Linked DNA regions of Homo sapiens: all the other regions are linked to region 7. The links are contacts of gene promoters, found by promoter capture Hi-C in blood cells and fetal thymus (Javierre and others, 2016). All regions are on one chromosome and are shown on one strand. The core of a region is centred on a gene start or on the middle of the fragment in contact, and the rest is flanking DNA. Distances in the headings are between cores, read along the strand shown. Region 1 overlaps LAMA4-AS1 (LAMA4 antisense RNA 1). Region 2 overlaps LAMA4 (laminin subunit alpha 4). Region 3 overlaps LAMA4 (laminin subunit alpha 4). Region 4 overlaps LAMA4 (laminin subunit alpha 4). Region 5 overlaps LAMA4 (laminin subunit alpha 4). Region 6 overlaps LAMA4-AS1 (LAMA4 antisense RNA 1). Region 7 holds the start of LINC02880 (long intergenic non-protein coding RNA 2880).

What was found. Contacts are between HindIII fragments. The CHiCAGO score rates a contact against its expected background, and 5 or more counts as called.
Region 1: a fragment that was not itself captured here is called in contact with the fragment with the promoter of LINC02880 in region 7 in 3 of 17 cell types (total B cells, naive B cells and megakaryocytes); the score reaches 9.1 in total B cells.
Region 2: a contact is called between a fragment that was not itself captured here and the fragment with the promoter of LINC02880 in region 7, in 2 of 17 cell types (naive B cells and total B cells). The highest score is 6.5, in naive B cells.
Region 3: a contact is called between a fragment that was not itself captured here and the fragment with the promoter of LINC02880 in region 7, in 9 of 17 cell types (naive B cells, naive CD8 T cells, total B cells and 6 more). The highest score is 14.6, in naive B cells.
Region 4: a contact is called between a fragment that was not itself captured here and the fragment with the promoter of LINC02880 in region 7, in 8 of 17 cell types (total B cells, naive B cells, non-activated CD4 T cells and 5 more). The highest score is 18.9, in total B cells.
Region 5: a contact is called between a fragment that was not itself captured here and the fragment with the promoter of LINC02880 in region 7, in 4 of 17 cell types (total B cells, naive B cells, total CD8 T cells and 1 more). The highest score is 7.8, in total B cells.
Region 6: a fragment that was not itself captured here is called in contact with the fragment with the promoter of LINC02880 in region 7 in 4 of 17 cell types (total B cells, total CD4 T cells, naive B cells and 1 more); the score reaches 9.6 in total B cells.

The regions. Positions count from the first base shown.
Region 1 is chr6:112,290,150-112,292,849 of GRCh38, forward strand. All of the region lies in intron 2 of LAMA4-AS1 (LAMA4 antisense RNA 1), which reads left to right. All of the region lies in intron 1 of LOC107986632 (a long non-coding RNA gene), which reads right to left. Among named protein-coding and RNA genes, the nearest start is that of LAMA4, 37 kb to the left of the region's middle. The HindIII fragment of the contact is 175 bases long and covers 1,280-1,454 here.
Region 2 is chr6:112,232,459-112,235,158 of GRCh38, forward strand. All of the region lies in intron 2 of LAMA4 (laminin subunit alpha 4), which reads right to left. Among named protein-coding and RNA genes, the nearest start is that of LAMA4-AS1, 2.8 kb to the right of the region's middle. The HindIII fragment of the contact is 1,360 bases long and covers 613-1,972 here.
Region 3 is chr6:112,215,490-112,218,238 of GRCh38, forward strand. LAMA4 (laminin subunit alpha 4) reads right to left here. Exons shown (of 39, transcript NM_001105206.3): 3 at 879-980. Among named protein-coding and RNA genes, the nearest start is that of LAMA4-AS1, 20 kb to the right of the region's middle. The HindIII fragment of the contact is 1,937 bases long and covers 385-2,321 here.
Region 4 is chr6:112,159,229-112,161,928 of GRCh38, forward strand. All of the region lies in intron 13 of LAMA4 (laminin subunit alpha 4), which reads right to left. Among named protein-coding and RNA genes, the nearest start is that of FAM229B, 73 kb to the left of the region's middle. The HindIII fragment of the contact is 6,360 bases long and covers 1-2,700 here.
Region 5 is chr6:112,140,213-112,142,912 of GRCh38, forward strand. It overlaps LAMA4 (laminin subunit alpha 4), which reads right to left. Exons shown (of 39, transcript NM_001105206.3): 20 at 1,907-2,080; 21 at 1,146-1,291; 22 at 548-710. All of the region lies in intron 1 of LOC107986633 (a long non-coding RNA gene), which reads left to right. Among named protein-coding and RNA genes, the nearest start is that of FAM229B, 54 kb to the left of the region's middle. RefSeq lists an enhancer at 604-1,803. The HindIII fragment of the contact is 5,539 bases long and covers 1-2,700 here.
Region 6 is chr6:112,255,954-112,258,653 of GRCh38, forward strand. All of the region lies in intron 2 of LAMA4-AS1 (LAMA4 antisense RNA 1), which reads left to right. Among named protein-coding and RNA genes, the nearest start is that of LAMA4, 2.7 kb to the left of the region's middle. The HindIII fragment of the contact is 3,914 bases long and covers 1-2,700 here.
Region 7 is chr6:113,903,100-113,905,799 of GRCh38, forward strand. LINC02880 (long intergenic non-protein coding RNA 2880) reads left to right here and starts at 1,288. Exons shown (of 4, transcript NR_027060.1): 1 at 1,288-1,645. The HindIII fragment of the contact is 3,143 bases long and covers 1-1,758 here.

The DNA of each region.
Region 1 (2,700 bases), core at 117-2,616, 1.6 Mb before region 7:
TAGCCAGTAAGTGACAAAGGCTGGATTTGAACTCTGGCAGTGCAGAGCATATCCTGTTAGCCACAATGTACAATGCTGGTGTTGACTGACAGCTTGTGTTTCGCCTCCATCTCTCTTGATGTCTTTGTTCTTTGTACTCAGTCAATAAACTTCTTTTTTTTTTTTTTTTGAGATGGAGTCTCACTCCATCGCCGAGGCTGGAGTGCAGTGGCGTGATCTCGGCTCACTGCAACCTCCACCTCCCCGGTTCAAGTGATTCTTGTGCCTCAGCCTCTCGAATAGCTGGAATGACAGGCATGCACCACCATGCCTGGCTAATTTTTGTATTTTTGGTAGAGATGGGGTTTCACCATGTTGGCCAGGCTGGTCTCAAACTCCTGTCAGTCAATGAACTTCTTTTTGCCTTACTCTCCCCATTAGAAAATGTTATCTCTCTGCTTCTCGGAAAAGAGAATGGATTAACATAATACAGGAGATAGTGTTTAATATAGGAGACAGCAATAAAAAAATCTGGAAAATGTATTTCAACTGAAATCCAGAGAAGGTAGTGGCTTGCCACTTGGCAATGGAACTGGAATTAGACTCAAGTCTCTACCTCTCACTACTCACCATGGAGGCTCTTGTACAGAACATACTTCCGTCGTAATAAAGTATGGACTGGTATAGTAGAGTAAGTGAGGAGTGTAGAGAAGAATTTCTATTTGTGTTCAGTTAAGGTTTGATTTAAACCAGTGTTCGTACCTTAATTTGAAAAAGTAAATGTAATTTAAATATTTCTTTTTTCTTGTAAATAAATGTATATTTGTTCGCATCAAAACAAATTTCAAGTTGCACTGCAAAAGGGAAGAGTAAACTTCTGTAACTCACATCATTGTTTTTTTAAAGAGCCATTTAATAAATAGTCTATATTTCAGTTCAGTATTATTTATGTTTTCAATATGTCCTTCTATAAAGTGTATGAATCAGTTGTTGTTAGTTCAGACAAGATTAAAACCTTTACTCCCACATGAAGAATGAAATGTCAATTTTTCTTTTGATATTTAGATGTTGCTTACAGAATTATAGTGGCTAACTGGAGTTCCATCCATAGTCAAGGTCATTTCATTTTTGAAACCCTCAGGAAACACATTGTATTATTGTTCTTGAACCACTTGAACATTATAGGTTGACTGACTTCAAAAACTGTATCATGGGTAAAAAGCATAAAGTTGTATTCTTATGCTTTTTTTTTCAAGTAATCCTAGATTTTAAAATGATAGCTTCAATTTTGTATGACAAAAGCTTCCCCAAACACTAAACCTTTTAAATAAATGACATTCTTTATTATTTTCTCTTTTATTCCCTACGGGTAATTGTGAAATCTCACAGTATCTTCTGTTAGCTCTGCTTTTGCCTAACCCACACTAAGAATTTCCTTTTTTTTTTTTTTCTCATTGCACAATTATTCCTCCCTAAGCTTTTGGGCTACAAAGGTAACTTGAAAGTCAAGAGACACAACTGTCCTGGTCAGATTTCTGTCAGCCTTCTGAGCCTTCTCACCTCCAACCCTTTGGCTTCTCAGTCTCCTTGATCCTAATGAGGAAAGAAAGAAAGGAAATAATATCTCTTTTCTACCATAACTTCTGCTCAAGATGCCACACTATGCTTCTGGTTTCTTTTCACCTTCACATTCTTAGAAGGAGGGGTGACATTTGTTACCTTAGTGTCCTCATCTCTTTTGGTCCTTTGGAAATTTTTTTATTTTTTATGACAGCAGCACCCCATTCTCACAACTCTCTGCTATGTTTACTTTCTAGACACTACTCATATCTGGTTGTCTTCTTAGCTCTTGAACTACTTTTTTTCCTCCCTGTATCCTTTGCTAGTACCTCTTTCCCTGCCCAAATCTTAAATGTTATCTGAATTTCCAACCTATTTGTTGTTCTTTTCATCAGCTTTGCAAGTCCCCCTGAGTGATGTCACCCAATCTCTTGGCTTGAGCGCCACCATTTTCTCTACAATTCCTGCCTCCAGCTTGATCTTCTCATCTAGGCACCAGACACAGACTTCCAAATAAGTGTGGAACTGCTTTAGCTGGAAGACCTGAAGCACCTCAAACTCAGCACAGCCAGAGCTAAAACCATTATCTTCTTTCTAAAGCCTGTCTTTTGATTTGTGCTTTTTATGGACATTGGTAAATGTTCTCACTGTTGACAGGTCTATTGCATCTTAAAACATCAGAGTCCTTCAAGTCTTCCTTCTACCTCACTCTAATATTTAATCATTTCAGGGATTCTTTTCCCAAATCTTAAGAAAACTTCAGACACACCGAAATTGAGGGATGTTCTACAAAATATCTGACACTCCTAAAGAGTGTCAAAGCCAGTAAAAACAAGAAAGATTGAGTAACTTTCACAGATTGAAGATGACTAAGGAGGCACGATGAATACAAGCAAGGTCATACCCTGGACCAGATCCCTTGAAAGTAAAGGACATTAGTGGTCAAATGTGAACGAAATCTGTAGTTCGTTAATGGTAATGTGCCAATGTTAATTTCAGTTTTTTACAAATGTTCTGTGGGTCTAGCAGATATAAAGATTAGGGAAAGCTGGGTGAAAGGCATAAGGAAACTCTATGCTATCTTAGCTACATTTCTACAAATCAACAATTTTTCTAAAACAACAACTAAAAAGCAAAACAAAAAGCATGGCTTCCCACTGT
Region 2 (2,700 bases), core at 43-2,542, 1.7 Mb before region 7:
CATTTTTAGATTTTTGTGAAATACTATTTAATGTAAATATGTATTTTCTTTAACTTTTCATTTATAAATAGCATAATGTGTACATTTCTTTTGAGTAAAAATTTTGGAGGATAGTTTCAGAATTGCTTTACAATATACCATCATTTTGTAGCTTTGAAATTTTGCCCCCAGATAACTGTTGTGATCGAGATAGCTATTCTGTTACAGCACGTTTCTAAAAGTGAAGGTAAAGAACACAAACTAAAGTGAAAAGAAAATGACTGCAAAGGGAATGGCAATGTCTGGGGTGCAACAAATCTAGTATTCACACTGCCATTTTAATGACAACAAAATAATACACATTTATGAAAGGAAATGAATGGGGAAGGCTGAGAGTATTTGATTTAAAGCAATTCTGTTATCTGTCATTTGAAGAAAAAAATTGTGCTGATTTTAAAACAATACTTTCATTACAGATGTTTCCAGACCCCTTCCCTGATCCAAGGAAACAAAATACCATTCAGCAACAGCCCAGATTTAGAGATGGGACTTGTTCCAATATAAACATTTCTTAGCTAGACCTTCTCCATGAAAGTGCATAGTCAATTTTTCCATATACAGTGGGAAAGACAAAGCTTTTAGCTTAAAAGGCATTCTCACTCGCAGCACGGAGCTCCTGGAATGAGCAGCCAGGGACACCGTGGTTGACTATTGATGTCACGCCAAATGCTATCTTGACTTGTTCTTCAGAATTACACAACAGAATCGTATCAGAGCATACACATACCATGAGCAGAAAAGTAGGCACTGTTTTGGATTTCAGTATTTGGTATGGTCATTTATTCATTTTGTCTCTGCTTCATGTACCACTGGCTATCCAGGGCCCAGCCCAGGGGCTGGCACAAAATGCGTTTTCAACAAATAATTGTGGAATGCATAAACAATTTTTTTTGAGCACGAATTTTAAAAGGAACTTGCACAGGCAATTTGGGGAATCAGAAGATGAATCATGGACCCTTCTGGCCTTCAGGGGTTCAATGGGGGAAATTTAAGCTGTATCTGTAACTTACTAGAATATCTGGAAGAAAGTGCTAAGAGCTATAATATCATGAGAGGTACAAAGAAATGCTGAGTGAGCTAAGAAGAGCAAGAGATTACTTTTAACATAGGGAAGAGCGGGAATCAAAAATGGTTCTTTGGTAGATGTGCGGTTTGTGGAGGATTTTCTGAAAGGAGGAAAGCTGAGGCTGAAAGAAAGCATAGGGCAATTTTTAGTTTACTCCTCATAAGGTAGAGAGGCTAAACTTATATTCTGTCTGTTGTTTCATTGCTTCAAGCAGGCATCTTTCACTCCTGGTAATCTCTCTCAATAAAAACACCAATGAATTTACTTTTTTTCTACTTGCTGGGAATTTCTTTGGAAGGATTAGTTTAATATCAGCAATTAAATTTTGTGACATCTTCAGCAACCTTCTGGCTTACAGTATACTCACATGGACACGCCACCCTCTCTCCACACATTGTAGATAATATTGGAGGCTTGCCCTAGTTCCTGAAATAAGTGTTAGGCACATCTGGAAGCCTTGTTAATCCTTTGGGGCCACCAGGATCCCATGAGTCACTCTCATGTGGCTTGAAAGTTAGGAATCTTGGAAGCAGTAATAATTTTCAAGTTATAACTTATACATAGGAAGAACGTCATTCAACTATAAAAACAAATTTTTTTTTTTATTTTTCATTCTGCCGTTTGATGCATTTTACCCAAAATGAGCTAAGCAAGATAATAAGAGGAACACTTGGTTTTGTGATTCTCTGAGTAACTGCGAGACTGGTTTAATGAACTTAGAACCTATCAAGAATGAAAACAAGAACCTGGTGCACCTGGTTTTTCAATACTCTACTGTCATCGGTATATGACAGTAGGTTTATGTCATAGGTTTATGACAGCTACTCAGTGACTAGCTGAGATATAGCACATAAAGTATTCTTATAAAGCTTTGACTACATTTTAGTATATTTTTTCTTTTTTGAAATTTGTTAATTTCTGGATGATTTGAACTAACTCAAAGGAAATTCATGCTGATTCATGACTTTGAGGAGAAAGCGCATTTTCTAGATAAACATGAGCTTGTGTTAGCAGATTAAAAAAAAAAAGAGATTGTAATCAAAAGAAAACCAACGTAGTTTAGATAATCTCAGATGAAGATCTAATGTCATAACTAAAAAACAGATCCAACACGTAGCTTTCAACATAACTGAATGGAAGAGAAGACAAAAAATGTGCTAAGAAAAAAATAACAGAATGCTTATTTCCACCGAACACTTTGATATACTGCATGTCCAAAAACATAGGGCACAGGAAAAATGTGCTTCATCTGCCAAAGTAACCACAAATACTGTTTGAGACCAGGAAGAGCCCAGCCCTTTAATAAAAACCTAGAAGTTTGGAGAACCTTACAAATATCTTTGGATATCCAAATATCTTCGGATATCCAAATATCTTCGGATAATACTCATAAAGATGATTACTCTGACCTTACACAGACATCAGCTTCATCTTAAATACAGTATTATTCTCACCATACTGAGGATCCTCCTGACATCAAAGACTAGGGTGAGAATGAGGCGTGAAAGTGCCCACCATTTTGAAAATGGACCATGGAATGGGCAGGGTTAGAACTGTCCTGCCTCCCAAAAACCTTCCTATTTTGCAGACCATGT
Region 3 (2,749 bases), core at 103-2,602, 1.7 Mb before region 7:
ATAGTTTATGCAAAAATACTCTTGTAGTTTTGGAAAACCTCTTTTTGCCAGATGGGAACTTGAAGAATTTTTCTGCTGTATCACACAGCTCACGAAGGAAAACATGCTATTTGAGCATAAGTTCTTATAAATGCCCTCTATGACTTCCACTGAAGCCACTTCTGGTAAATATTTCAACACCCATTTTCACTTAAGTTGTCAGTCCATTCATTAAAAATGGGAAATATGTAGCAAGTACTTTTCTGCTGGAAGACTTCTCAATCTTTCGCACAAGGCTCTATCATGCTTCAATGAAGAACAGTCTATTGGAGAATTCATTTCAGTTAAGGAAAAAAATAGTCTCCTGGGGGCTTAAACACAGACTTGCAAAGACCACAAGGGCAAAGCTTTCATTTTCATCAGCTATTGGGTTCAAACTTAAATTTCTTTTTTAAAAACTAATTTTGATCTATAGACCTGGTTATTTTAGGTTCTAAAATAGGCTAGGCAACAACTGTTTCATTCTCCTGGTTTATGTGGAACGAAGCCAAACATATGGCAAACTATACGATTACAGAGGAATTTGGATGTATGGGTTCCTCCTCTATGTATCATTTTCAATCCCACCGCCATTGGTCTACAGCAGGCAACCAGCTGCTGAGGGTGGTGGGGCAGGAGCCTCCGGGTGCACGTGCACACTCATGCATATGCCTTGGTGGACCCTTAAAATCAGAAGTAGTTTATATGAGTTGTTTCACAGGAAAAGCTGAAGGGTGAACAAAAGCACTTGATTAGCAGTTTGCTCCTATGTGGCTCAAACATCCGAAAAATATTTTATCTTCACCCAAGATGCAAATGCCCAGTGAAGTACGTGAAGTGTTATAGGTGCCCCAACTTACCACACAGTATCCTGAGCCGTCCAAACACTCGTTGGAATTGCCATTACAGTCGCAGGGCACACATTCTCCCGACAGGGTGTGAAAGAATCCAGCATTGCATTTCTGCAACAGACACACCAAACCATTTTGATTATTGAAAAGATTGATTTTGGTCAATATTTTCTGAGAAGAAATCAGAGAAAGTGATTATTAAACAATCTAAACATTTCTAAAATGAATATACTAAATGATACATACAAAACATACTAAAATAAACTATTTATACTACCATTCAGTGATAGATGATGTATATATAATCTTCTTTGTTACATAACTTTTTCCCTCCTTTCACTTTTCAGGAGAACAGAAATGCCTTTAACACTGTCTTATCATTGCAAGGAAGAATAAGAAGGTATTACGTAACAGTAAGGGAGAAAAAAATGCTAATGTTTTCTTCCAGTATAAGCAAAACAAAACAAGACCACAATTAAGTATTAGTCAGGGTGAGGTCATGCTCCCTATAAATAAAGAAAGACTTCTCGTTTCAGCAATCACTAGCTATAGGAGAGCAACTTAGCTATAGGATAGCAACTGAGTCTTTCATGAACTTCAGTTCTTAAAAGCATCTGTTTCTTCAGATGCTAACATGTTAAAGGGAGGGATAAGGAAGTTAATGAGTTCTTACACTTGTCAAGTCCTGTGTGGGTGCTGTTCATATATGTATTTCATTTGTCTTCAGAATGCTGCGAGGAACACATGACTTTCCCTTATCCTAGTGATGAGCTCATGAGATTGAGAGGTGCTAAGTGGCTTTTGGGGATGTTAAACTATCCTGTCATGCACCAATTGACCTGCACAATCATCAGCTGCCCTCCCCAGATATCATTAGTGTGCCATTTGAGACACATTATGAGATTGTTCCTGGTTTATGTGATTAGGCTGTGGATATGCATTTGATATTTCTTTGGAATGTCTCAGTGATGAAGGGCAGAAATGGCATTATGGGCCTGGAAATCCGCTCCCCGCCCATCAGACAAGTTTATGTCTAAAGAATTCCAGACAGATAAGAATCTGCTTTGTTTCCACAGACTTACAGAGTCCAAGATTTCACATCATACACCCCCATTGACCCATTGTAGTTTGCACTTCCCTGGCGACCAGGAAATTTTCATTATATCTGGCTGAAGTCCCTCTGATTGCTATGCAAACCTATTTCCCCTTGCTTTTTACTCTGTAAAGAAAGAGTCACTAAACACCATTCACAGTATTTAAAAAAAAACACACACATCAGTTCACACTTTAAAACTAAAATTTAATAAACCCCATTTGGAGGAAGTTTAATAAAGAATAACAACATTTGTCTATGAAAAAAAGGCAAGGAAATTCCACATTTCCAAGTTAGAGAAATAAGGCTAAGAGAAGATCAATTTATAATTTTTTAATGGAGAGTTGTGGTTGATGGTAAGCTTCTTAGTTTCCACTAGAAAACAAGAGAGGGAAGACACTAAGATTGCAGTAGGAAGCATTTAATTTAGACCATTTAATTTCACATTTTTAGTCTTTGCCGCAAAGTAAAACATACATGTTTTCATTGTGATGCAGTACACAGATTGGTATCTATATCTATATTGGTGTAGATATGGAGATAGATATAGATATCCATATATATGTGTCTCAGAGAAAAGATTCACAAAGTAATAATGTACCTAAAACTTCTCTATTGTATTTAAGAGTATATCCTGGTCATGACCCATAAAATTGATCTGATGACCCATGAATGTGTTGCAGTTTTGCATGACTGCAGGGTTTTCTTTATAAGAGTAGTGGGTAAGAGTAGTGACGGTCTTAATATTAGTTATCTTAGTAGCCTCTTAAATGGTGGTTTCTGAGCT
Region 4 (2,700 bases), core at 85-2,584, 1.7 Mb before region 7:
AGTTGTTTATATATGTTGTCTCTATTTTCTCTCACTTTATATTTCCTATTTTGACCTAGTCCTGTCTGATTTCTACTCCATTACTCTACCAAAAGAGAAGTTAATTACATCTAAGTTACTAAATCTAATGGACATCATTCAGTTTTCATCTGACCTTTCAGTTACCTTTCAGGTGACTGACTACTTCCTAAAAATCACCTTGTAACACAGGCTCTCTTGGTTTTTAATACAACCACAGACCTACGATTTTGCTTAAAGATCGTGCAACTGTGTAGACGGATGTTCCTGCAAACCCGTGAGTTTCAGCCTTGGCTGGCCCCTCAATGCTGCAAAGAGATTTGTTCTCCTAGTCACCCAAATAGTGATTCTAAACATTGTCATGATTCCTAAGCCAACATTTCCTTCACCCACCCCCATCTGATTGTAAACAGATCACTTTATTTTCTTTTTTATTTGGAGGTCATAAACTGTTAGTGGGGGACACTTCTTCCACACTTCTGATGTCTCCTTTATATGCAGGGAGCACAGTGAGTGAAACTCCAGACCTCTCTACCCCTTTCCTCACTCTACTCCTGTGAGAGGGGAGTGGTTGATTTTGTGGGTAAATTTGGGAAGAATAACTCTATAGGCTCTGCTCAACTCCACCCTTCTTTGTCCTGGGAGCAAGCTGCCAGCAGAAAGCCTGAGTTTTCCTGTGTTCCTCCATGTTAAAACTATTCTGGGCAGAACCCCCATCTAAGCCTTACGGTGTTGCCTGTCTGGGTGGGCACAGCTGCTTAATACTGGGACTGAATGTCAGCTACCCCACTTGGCTAAGAGACCTAAAGCCATGCCTGCTGCTTAGCTGCTTCAGAAATAAGGCAACCTCCTTGGTCTCTGTATTTACTATTTTATTTATGTTTCCACCTGTTTAGAACTTGGGTTCTGGAAAGGGTCACTATTTATTGGTTAACTCCCTCAGAGACTCCAAAACCAATGAACAGGTATTTCCCCAGCTTTTTGCAACCAGCCCCCAGCCCTTCCCCGCAAACTCTATAGATGTATTTATAGCTACACCTACACAAAAATTTCTCTCCAATTTTAAGAGGAAAATGTTCATTTTCTGTATAAAGCATGCTGCCCCATTGTCTTGGTAACCCCGTTATTCATTCTTGCTTTCTAGCTACTGACTCTTCTCAGATATAAACATGCTCAAGTATCTCCCGTCAAAAAACAAAACAAACAAACAAACAAACAAAAAACCTTATTCTTTCACTTTAGGCTCCCTTCTAGCTTTTTCTCTTGCTTTGACACAGTGCACTTTACAGAAATGTTTCTTGCCAAGATCACCAACACCTGGCCCCAAATCTCCAGATCCACTTGACATTTTCCCATCCTTATTTACTGGACCCATCTGTGGTTTGCTACAGTGTTGGCCACTGTCTTTGCTTAAAACTCTTTTCTTTTCCTAGCTTCTGTGACTATGCTATCTCCTGGGTCTCCTCTTTCCCTGACCAAGAAAGAGACCGTGAAACTTGGCATTTGACTCCCAGCCCTTTCCTCTCCCCTGAGTGATCTCACTTCTTTCTCTGAGGGCAGTCTTTGAGTATTCTAATCCATTCTCCACTGTCTTGCAGGAAAGGTAATCTTCCTATTAAGAAAATCTGACCATGTTATTTCCCTTCTCAGAATCAGCCAGTTGCTTTGCAGGAATGAGTCCAATTTCTAAGCATGACATCATCAGCTGACCGCTCTTCTCTCACCAATTTCATCAATTCTCATGACCCCCAACCTGCTATATCCCATGGTCTAATCTTGACCAACTGGTTGTTGTTTTAATGCTCCACAATTTTTTCTGGTCTCTTACCTCTGCAAATATTTTCCCTTTCTGGAATAATTTTCCTTTATTTTCTGTCTAATCTACCTGGAAAGCTCTACTCCTCCTTTCAAATTCAGCTCAAATATCACTTCCTTTTTGAGGCCATCCCTAACCTCCTCAGGATGAGTTAAGTGTTGCCATGTGTTTTTATTATTCATTCATGTGTCAAATGATTGTAATAATTTTAAGTGATTATTTAACTCATCACATCATACAATCCTAGGAGGCAGGAACTGAGTTTAACTTATTTTTGTAATCCCAGAATGTAGCACAAAGGGTTTGTAGTACAAAGGGTTTACTTTTATGGAGGCAGTATTAAACCTCTAGCCATTTTGGTTGGTCATCTGGGGAACAATACTTTGAAAAAAATGTTTTTAATTGTATAAGTGGAAAATAGACCATGGACATACCACTTTTACTCATTCATTCCATCAACAAATATTCCCTGTGTGCTCATTATGGACCAGGAACTCTTCTGGGGGTAGAATACCTTTGAACACAGTCTCCACTTTCAAGGAATTTACAGTTTAGTGGGAGAGATACAGGTAATAAACAAGTGATCAAACAAGCAAACAAGCTAATTTCAGGGAGTAAAAGATATTTTGAATAACATATGACAGGTGGGGTGGGATGAGGAGTGAGTGGGGTAAGGGGTTCATTTGGATGTCAGGGTCATAAGGACACCAGCCATTTGAAGATCTGAGGGCAGCAGGTGCAGAAATCCTGAGGCAGGAAATAAGTATGGTATATTTGAAAAATAGAGAGGAGTTTGTTGGGCTGGAGTGCAGTGAGTGAGAAAAGAGTTGGGTATGTGGTCAGAAAAGTGGGTCTGAGCTGGGTCA
Region 5 (2,700 bases), core at 85-2,584, 1.8 Mb before region 7:
TCAGATAAATTCCAATTATGTGCCCATAACTAGTAATAATAGTCCTGAAATTGGAACCCTAGATCAACTTCCCATCTTCTTCGACCTTTCCTTTATCCCCCTTCATCAGATTTCATACTCTCTCCGAAGTCTCACCCCCTCTCTCATCCCAGATACTTTATTTCATACCTGTATTAGGTGAGATAACTGAATTTTTGAAACCACCACTGCAAAGCTGAAGATTAGATCTAAACTGTGGTGACACCACAAGCTACGGACCTTCCTGTGGCAGGTGGGGGTAATATTAATTACATATGCATGTATCAGAATGAATGAACTGATCTTCAGGAGTTAGCTATAACTTGAAAGCATTTGACATTATGAAAATATGAGTAGCATAGACCAGATTTACACATCAGGTTTATAGATTCTGGTTCAGAATTCTACTCCCCCATGAACTAAGCTCTTAAAGTGATATCAGCAACCCCCAAGTCATTATAGGTTTATGGATTTATAAAAACAATTACTGTAGATTTGTAATAGGTCAAAATATAGCTGTATGGCTGACCTTGAAGTTGGAAGGCACTCCACCAACATAAAACACTGTGTCCTCAGGGTCCAGGTCCAGCAGAGAGTCATCTCCCGAAAATTCCCCCTTTTTAATGAACTTTTCCTCTGCTGTGCTACTTAGACTCGGGACTGTTAAAAACACCTTTCCATGTTTTCCCACCCTATTGAGATAAATAATTTTCACTTGTTATTATATAATTCATAGAAAATACTTTTTAAATGTCAAAATGTTAATGCTCCCTCATCACAAAATGGGTAATTTTGTGACACTAATAAGCATTTACAAAATACCACAATCAATGAGAAAGAGAAGAAAGACATTCCATTTTGAAGTTAATTCATGGATTGACCAGGTAAAATCTAATAATCAGATCGTGATTTAGAAATGACTTTTTTTTTTCTTTCCTACTAAGGTGTTTGGGAAAGAATATAAGAATAATGGAAGAAAACGGAGCAAGAATAAAGGGAGGAAAATGCTATTTATAACATCCACAGGAAGACTGTGTATGTGTGTGTGTGTGTGCACGCACATGTGCACGTTCAACAGGTTTCTTGTGATATGTGCATATATGCCCTGTGTCATGGATTCACTGTACCTTTCAATCTTGACAATGCTGAAGTAAGCAGGCCAGGAACTGACGGGCTTGGAGTCCAGGGGAATCTCCACATCTTTAGTTCCCAAATTATAGACGTATACCAGATTATCATTTTTGATTGCAAGACCCATATACTCTTTTTTGGCCTGAAATATCAAGAAGTAAGAAGTCATTTAAATAAAATTCATAAGAATGAACATCATCTTTTTTAAAGGACAATCAGAAATCCAAATATTTGGGTATATACAAGTGACTTCTGGCCTGAATTATTATCCGAAGCTCCTGTGAGCAGGCAGTGTCTCTTCCTTTCCAGCCTCCCTGTGGCCACATCAGAGTCTGCTGGCCCCATCTTGCTCAGGCTCGTGGAAATTTGTTGGCTGCCAGGAATGGGCTAATTTTGTGAGGCTAACCCAGGAATATAATACAGCCTGACAGTACCGATCACTATGCATCTCTAAACAGGATTCAGCATCAAACAGAATAGGCTTCTGTCTTTCTGAAAGTCTTTGAGGTGTTTCATTCAGACTCATCAAAGTTAGTAGTGTGATGGTGATAGGAAACAATCCCCACAATATCCCACACAGAGAAGAAATGACTTGTCCTTTAGTCATTCTTTTAATTTTGCCATTAAAATGAGATCTTCTGAGTTACCAGAATGGGCATTGTTTTGGTTTGTTTGCCTAGGTGGCTTTATTTTAGGCAAGAGAAAAAGCAGCTTTCCTTGTAAATATTATTCCCTCCTTTCAAACTCATGTGCTTACGTTTTTGCTTCCGAGGTACAGGATAAACTGATCTGCAGTCTCGGTCAGTTCCGGCCGCTTCACAGGGGGTTTCATGTACAGGCTCAGAGACGTGAAGGCCTTTAAGTCATCCATACTGGTTCTCGAGTGCACTTCCACAGCTGACTGGCCATCAAACATCATGGAGACTTGGATCTGGAGTGACACAACGGTTTCATTAAAAGTGCTTTGCAGAAATGGGCAGAGTGCTTTCCCGTGCTTCCCTCATTCGTGACAGGGGCCTATAAACTCTCTTCACCTCCATACCTGTAGTTATTTACCACATCCTCCCCTAGTTGAAGAGAAGACTTAGGGCAGATTGTGACACAGTAGTTTAAAGTGGGGTGAAAGAAAGCAAAAAAAAAGTGGTGACTAAGTAGATCCAAGAATGAGGATAAATATGAATTCCACCATGAACAGTATACTTGGTTTGGGTGAACTAAACAACTTGCTCAAGTTGTCTGGTCAGTATACAATTCACAAGGCTCATACAATTTATACAAAACTAATTGTTTGGGAGAAGTAGAACTAATTTTGGTTACTAATACAGCTGGGACTTTGTCCCTAGGGTCCTCATAAAAGGGACATGGGGTGAGGCTGTGAGCAACATCCTTGCCCTTGTCTACACAGTTGGGAGGGGTCTGGACTAGCTTTGTAGTCTCAGACCAGGTGGGCTCTACCACTTCCTAACTATGTAACCTTGAGCAAGTCACTTAACCTTCAGTTTCCTCATCTGTGAAATGAGGATAATAAATTTGTTGTGAGCATGAAATACG
Region 6 (2,700 bases), core at 196-2,695, 1.6 Mb before region 7:
CCAAGGTGGGTGGATCATGAGGTCAGGAGTTCGATACCAGCCTGGCCAACATGGTGAAACCCCGTCTCTACTAAAAATACAAAATTTAGCCAGGCATGGTGGGAGGCGCCTGTAGTCCCAGCTACTCGGGAGGCTGAGGCAGGAGAATTGCTTGAACCCGGGAGGTGGAGGTTGCAGTGAGCAGAGATTTTACCACTGACTCCAGCCTGGGTGACAGAGAAAGACTCCAGCTCAAAAAAAAAAAAAAAAAAAAAAAAAAAAATTGTCTCATTTAATTTCATCTTTATGATAATCTCATGAAGTAGGGATTGTCATACACATTTGGCCATGGGTAAGTGGTAAAATTACTACTATAGCCCAGGTAAATCTGATGGTAAGATCTTTGATTTTAAATGATAAAATTGTATGATACAAAAGAACCAAAGCCAAAGGAAGCAAAAATAATTCCTATAGGTTTTAAAGTGATATTTTGATTTTAAAATATTAAAATAGTATTGCAAGGGACTATTAAGCTAAATTATGATACTCTTCTTTTACATAGACTTGTTAACCTACTAAATTAAGTGGGAGAAGTTAAAAACATGTTTGGTTTAGTTGAGAGACTGATATTGGGAAAAAAGATAGCCAGACTCTGAGACAAAACAGATTATGCTCAGTTATACTGACCCAGTCACCCTTTAAAAGAACATTAAATAATAATAATATTAATTATATATGATGTATATTAAATATTCTGACTTCAGATACAGATCTCTTCAGCTCACCAAAACTCATATATTTGTTTTCTGAAGGATTTCATCTTGTTCTTTACTAGCTGCCAATTAATCACACACTTTTTAATTTAATCTGGGCCCTCTTCTGTCTGCCTGCCCAGTGCTGGTAGGAGTGTATTCGTCCAAGACCTATGGACTTCTTATTTTTGGTTAAATATGTGCTCCCAGCTCTTCCTCTTCATCTTCTTTCTGTGGGTACTATTATTGTTTTTGAGACAAAATGGCATAATATGCAGGGGGATGGGTTTTGTATAAAATAAAACAGGGTTCAAATCCTGGGTCTGCATGTAGTACTTTTGGGAGCTTGGCATGTAACTTAGTCCCTCTGAAAGTTTCCTTCCCTGTAAAATGGGCATAATGATGCCTTTTTGTCATAGGCATTTCAACTAGAGCAATTCCATCTTGAATAGGGGCTGGGTAAAATAGGACTGAGACCTACTGGGCTGCGTTTGGAGGAGGTTAGGCATTCTAACTCACTGGATGAGACAGGAGATCAGCATAAGATACAGGTCACAAAGACCTTGCTGATAAAACAGCATGCGGTAAAGAAGGCAGTCAAATCCCAACAAAACCAAGGTGGTGACCTTGGTCGGACTCACTGCTCATTATACGTGAATTATATTGCGCTAACATGCTAAAATACACTCCCACCAGCACCATGACAGCTTATAAATGCCATGGCAACATCAGGGAGTTACCCTATATGGTCTAAAAAAGGGAGGAACCCTTAGGTTCCCAGAAATTGCCGACTCCTTTCCCAGGAAACTCATGAATAATCCACACCCTGTTTAGCATATAATCAAGAAATAACCATAAAGATAGGCAATCAGCAGCCCTTGAGGCTGCTCTGCCTGTGGAGTAGCCATTCTTTTATTCCTTTACTTTCTGAATAAACTTGGCTTTACTTAACTCTATGGACTCGCCTGGAATTTTTTGTTGCGTGAGATCCAAGAACCTTCTCTTGGGGTCTGGATTGAAACCTCTTTCTGGTAACATTTTCACTGAATTATTATGGGTAGTAAATGAAAGAATATAAATAAACATTAACACAGACTAGCATGTAGTCAGAGCTCAATAAATACTATTTAATTATACAATAAGCCCCCATTTAACATTATCTATATGTTCTTGGAAACTGCAACTTTAAGCAAAACAACATACAATGAAGCCAATTTTACCTTAGGCTAATTGACATAATTAAGATTTATTTAAATTCCTATGACATAGTTCTGGTCACAAAAACATCACTAAACTTCTAAAGAAAGACCAAAATGCTTCTAATGGTAAATATGAAAATAAATGTGAGCTATACGTACATTTCAGAAAGATTAATAGAAACAAGTGTGAGAATTATTTACCCAATGTTTGGTGAATCAGTGAGTGACAGCAGTCATAGTGGTGGTGGGTTAAAGCAAGGAATAAATGTTTTAAAGCAAAAATTATAAGCACCTCCTACCACCATGCAATTCAAAAAAACCCAACAACAAATATGATGGGCTCGCTGAACGCTTCCATGCAGCATCATTTATTGTCATATGCCTGTATGATTATTGTAGACTTCATGAATTTTTATTTGATAACAATTTTTGTTCATTATTCAATCATTTTCCAACCTGCTTTTTCCAACTCAGAGTGTTGGGTGGCTGGAGCCCATACTGGCAGCTCAGAGTTCAAGCTGGGGACCCTGGACAGAAGGCCATTCCATTGCCGGGCACGCTCACACACACACAGCCACACTCACTAAGACTGGAACCATGCAGACGTACCAAGGAACGAGGATATCTTTGAGATGTGGGAGGAAACTGAAGTACCTGGAGAAAACTCACGTGAGAACTTGCAAATTCCACACAGACAGTGGCTCCAGCCAGGAATTGATTTTTTTTTTTTTCTCACCAATATTATGACAAAGCAACATTGAAAGAAACAA
Region 7 (2,700 bases), core at 38-2,537:
GTTCCTTTTGTTCTAAGGGTATATCCCACTTGAGGTCTACAGTCAATTCCCAGGTTTTAATGTCACTTGAAATACTTTCTCCCAAGAGGATGTGCCACCAACTCAATATCTAGTTAGGTTTGACTTTTTTCATTTTGTTTTGAGTTTTAACGATTATATCTTAATATTTATCAACTATATATTTTGGAAATCTTTTCATACTTGCATGTAGAGATATTCTTCTTCTTTTTTTTACAGCTGTGTACTACTGCATTGTGTGAATGTACCATAGTTGAGGGTCCCCTATTGATGGACATTTGAGTTTTTTCTAATACACAAATTGTGCTGTGATAGGTGGCCTTGTGAATACATCTTTCCATTTCTGTCAGTGCATCTTTGGGATAAATTAGAAACTGTAATGCTAAATCAAAAGTAGCCAGTAGAATGTCTTTTTGCTTGAATAATCATAATATTTATCCTGTGCTCTAAGGGTGAAATGATGCCACCTCTTCCCCAAGTGCAGGGAATGAAGAGATGAGCCTTTGGCCCCTGATATGTCAACAATTATCTCTCCTAGAAGACCAACTGAGCTCTCTTACCAGTAGACTTTCTGGAAGAACATCCAAACATGTCCTGATAGAAACAAAGCCAGATCTTGTCTCAGAAGAAAAAAAAAAAAATAGGGGCAAAAATATTCTACACAGATCACAAAAGTTTTCTTAGGAAACCATGCTCCCCCTGGACAGCTCCCCAGGAAGGTAACCCTTGGCGTTGATCTTGCGATTGGAAGGGTGTTCATTTTTTAATTATGCTGACAGACATTCAGTGAGAACTGTACTTCCCGAGGGCTAGTGAGCAGGGGGAGGTTTTCCCTGTTGTGCTCAGGCAGGACGTTCCAGGGATCTGGGGAGGCCCTGACATAACTGCACGTTCACACGGCTGCCCCTCCCTCCTCCTCCCTCTGTCTTCTCCAAAACAAATGACCTCGCTGGGATCCTGTTTGCCTTTTACTGACTTCCTGGACCAAAGCAGTGTGCCTGTGAGTGCAACAGCTGATCCCTTTCGGAGTGGAGTTTCCTAGCTGGTGCCTGTCCTCTCTTGAGCCTTTGTTTCTTGAGTGAGCACTCACTGGGGCTGTGGCTCCATGAACTGGATTTCAGGAAACCAGCCAAGGCATTCTCTCTCTCTCTCCATTCCTAGAAAGGCAGAAAGCCTGGGAATGGGTTCGGCAGGAAGATCTCTGTACCTCAATCTCCATTGCTTTCAGCACCACTGGCTTTCTCCCCAGCTCAAGTGCAAAACCTGCCATCGTTGCTACCTGGGGTGCCTCAGACTCACCCAAGTCCCCCAGGCCAGAGGACATGCTCTCAAGCCTTGTTTCAGAAAGAGGGACCCAAAGGCTGTTAGGGAAGAGAACCAGGGTCCTCAAACCCAGGGTTTTCTCACCCACTGCCTCTGCTCTGGCTGTGGCCTGCCAGACCTCTCCTCTGATTTTCGCTTTCCTTCCTGCCAGTGCCTTTGTTTATCCGAGGCGCCAAGATCCCACTGTGAAGTCTGAAAGGAAGACCAGTGGTTCTCGCTTTTCCTCTAGATGCTGTGTCTCCCAATGTCATCTTCTTTCCTCTCAAAGACAATTGGACGTTGTTACAGATTTTCTTGGAATGAGGTGAGTGGACGTTGTTTTTCCCTAGGAATGTTCTCCTGTGCTTCAGAGACATATTTAGAAGGGCATAAGAACAAGAGGAATTAGTGTGGGTCCCTGCCACTGGCACCCCTCCAAGCTTGGCTTTACCCCTTCATGTCAACACCATTTCCTCCCAGGCTTTTCACAGCTTTACAGCCCATCTCAAGTCTTTAACTGCTAAGTGAGCTTTAAAGAAAAGAAAAATCTTCAAAGGCTCCACCAAAGGAAAGAACGGGGCACCTCACATTCGGCCTAAGACAGGAGTGAAAAGACAGGAGATTTGACATTCGCATGGCTGTTCTCTATCCCACCCACTTACAACTTTATACTTATCCTCCCGAAGTCTCAATCCAGCTTCAATTTTATCTGAAAAGGGTCATTTGGGATACAAAAAGCTGCTCCTCCAATGCCACCAAACAACTGCTGGTGCCCTCTATTAACCATCTGAGAAAGCCTAAACATCTCTCCAGCACAAGTAGACCAGGAATTCCCAGCCCCCATCCCATATAAAATCCAAACGATGACAGTAATTGAATGACACAGTGTATTCAATAACCCCACCGTACCTTCCTTCTCACTTCCAGGGGTGATCACATTGACATCTCACCTCATCCGTGGGCTGCCCACAGCCTGGCTATGTCCAGGACTTCTGGTCTCTCTCTCTCTCTCTCTCTAAAAGATAGGGTCTCGTTATGTTGCCCAGGATAGATGTGAACTCCTGGGCTCAAGCGACCCTCTCCTCTCAGCCTCCCAAGGAGTTGTGACTACAGTCTCACACCACCATGCCCAGCTAAGCTCACTGCACATGTCAATGTCTTATCTCCCGGCCCTTCCCTTCTTCCGTTTGTCCTCCCCTCCCCTGTTCTCACTATTCACCTTTCCTTCAGTTGCCCACCTACTTCCATGTTCGGAGGCCAGTGCTCTTTGGATCTGACATGTTGTGTGTGGGTCCCAATGGTTCATAGAAGGCCAGAGGGTCAGACACTTCTGCTCAGTAAGGGGAAGGATGAGAGGATCCATCTTGATCCTTCCCATCA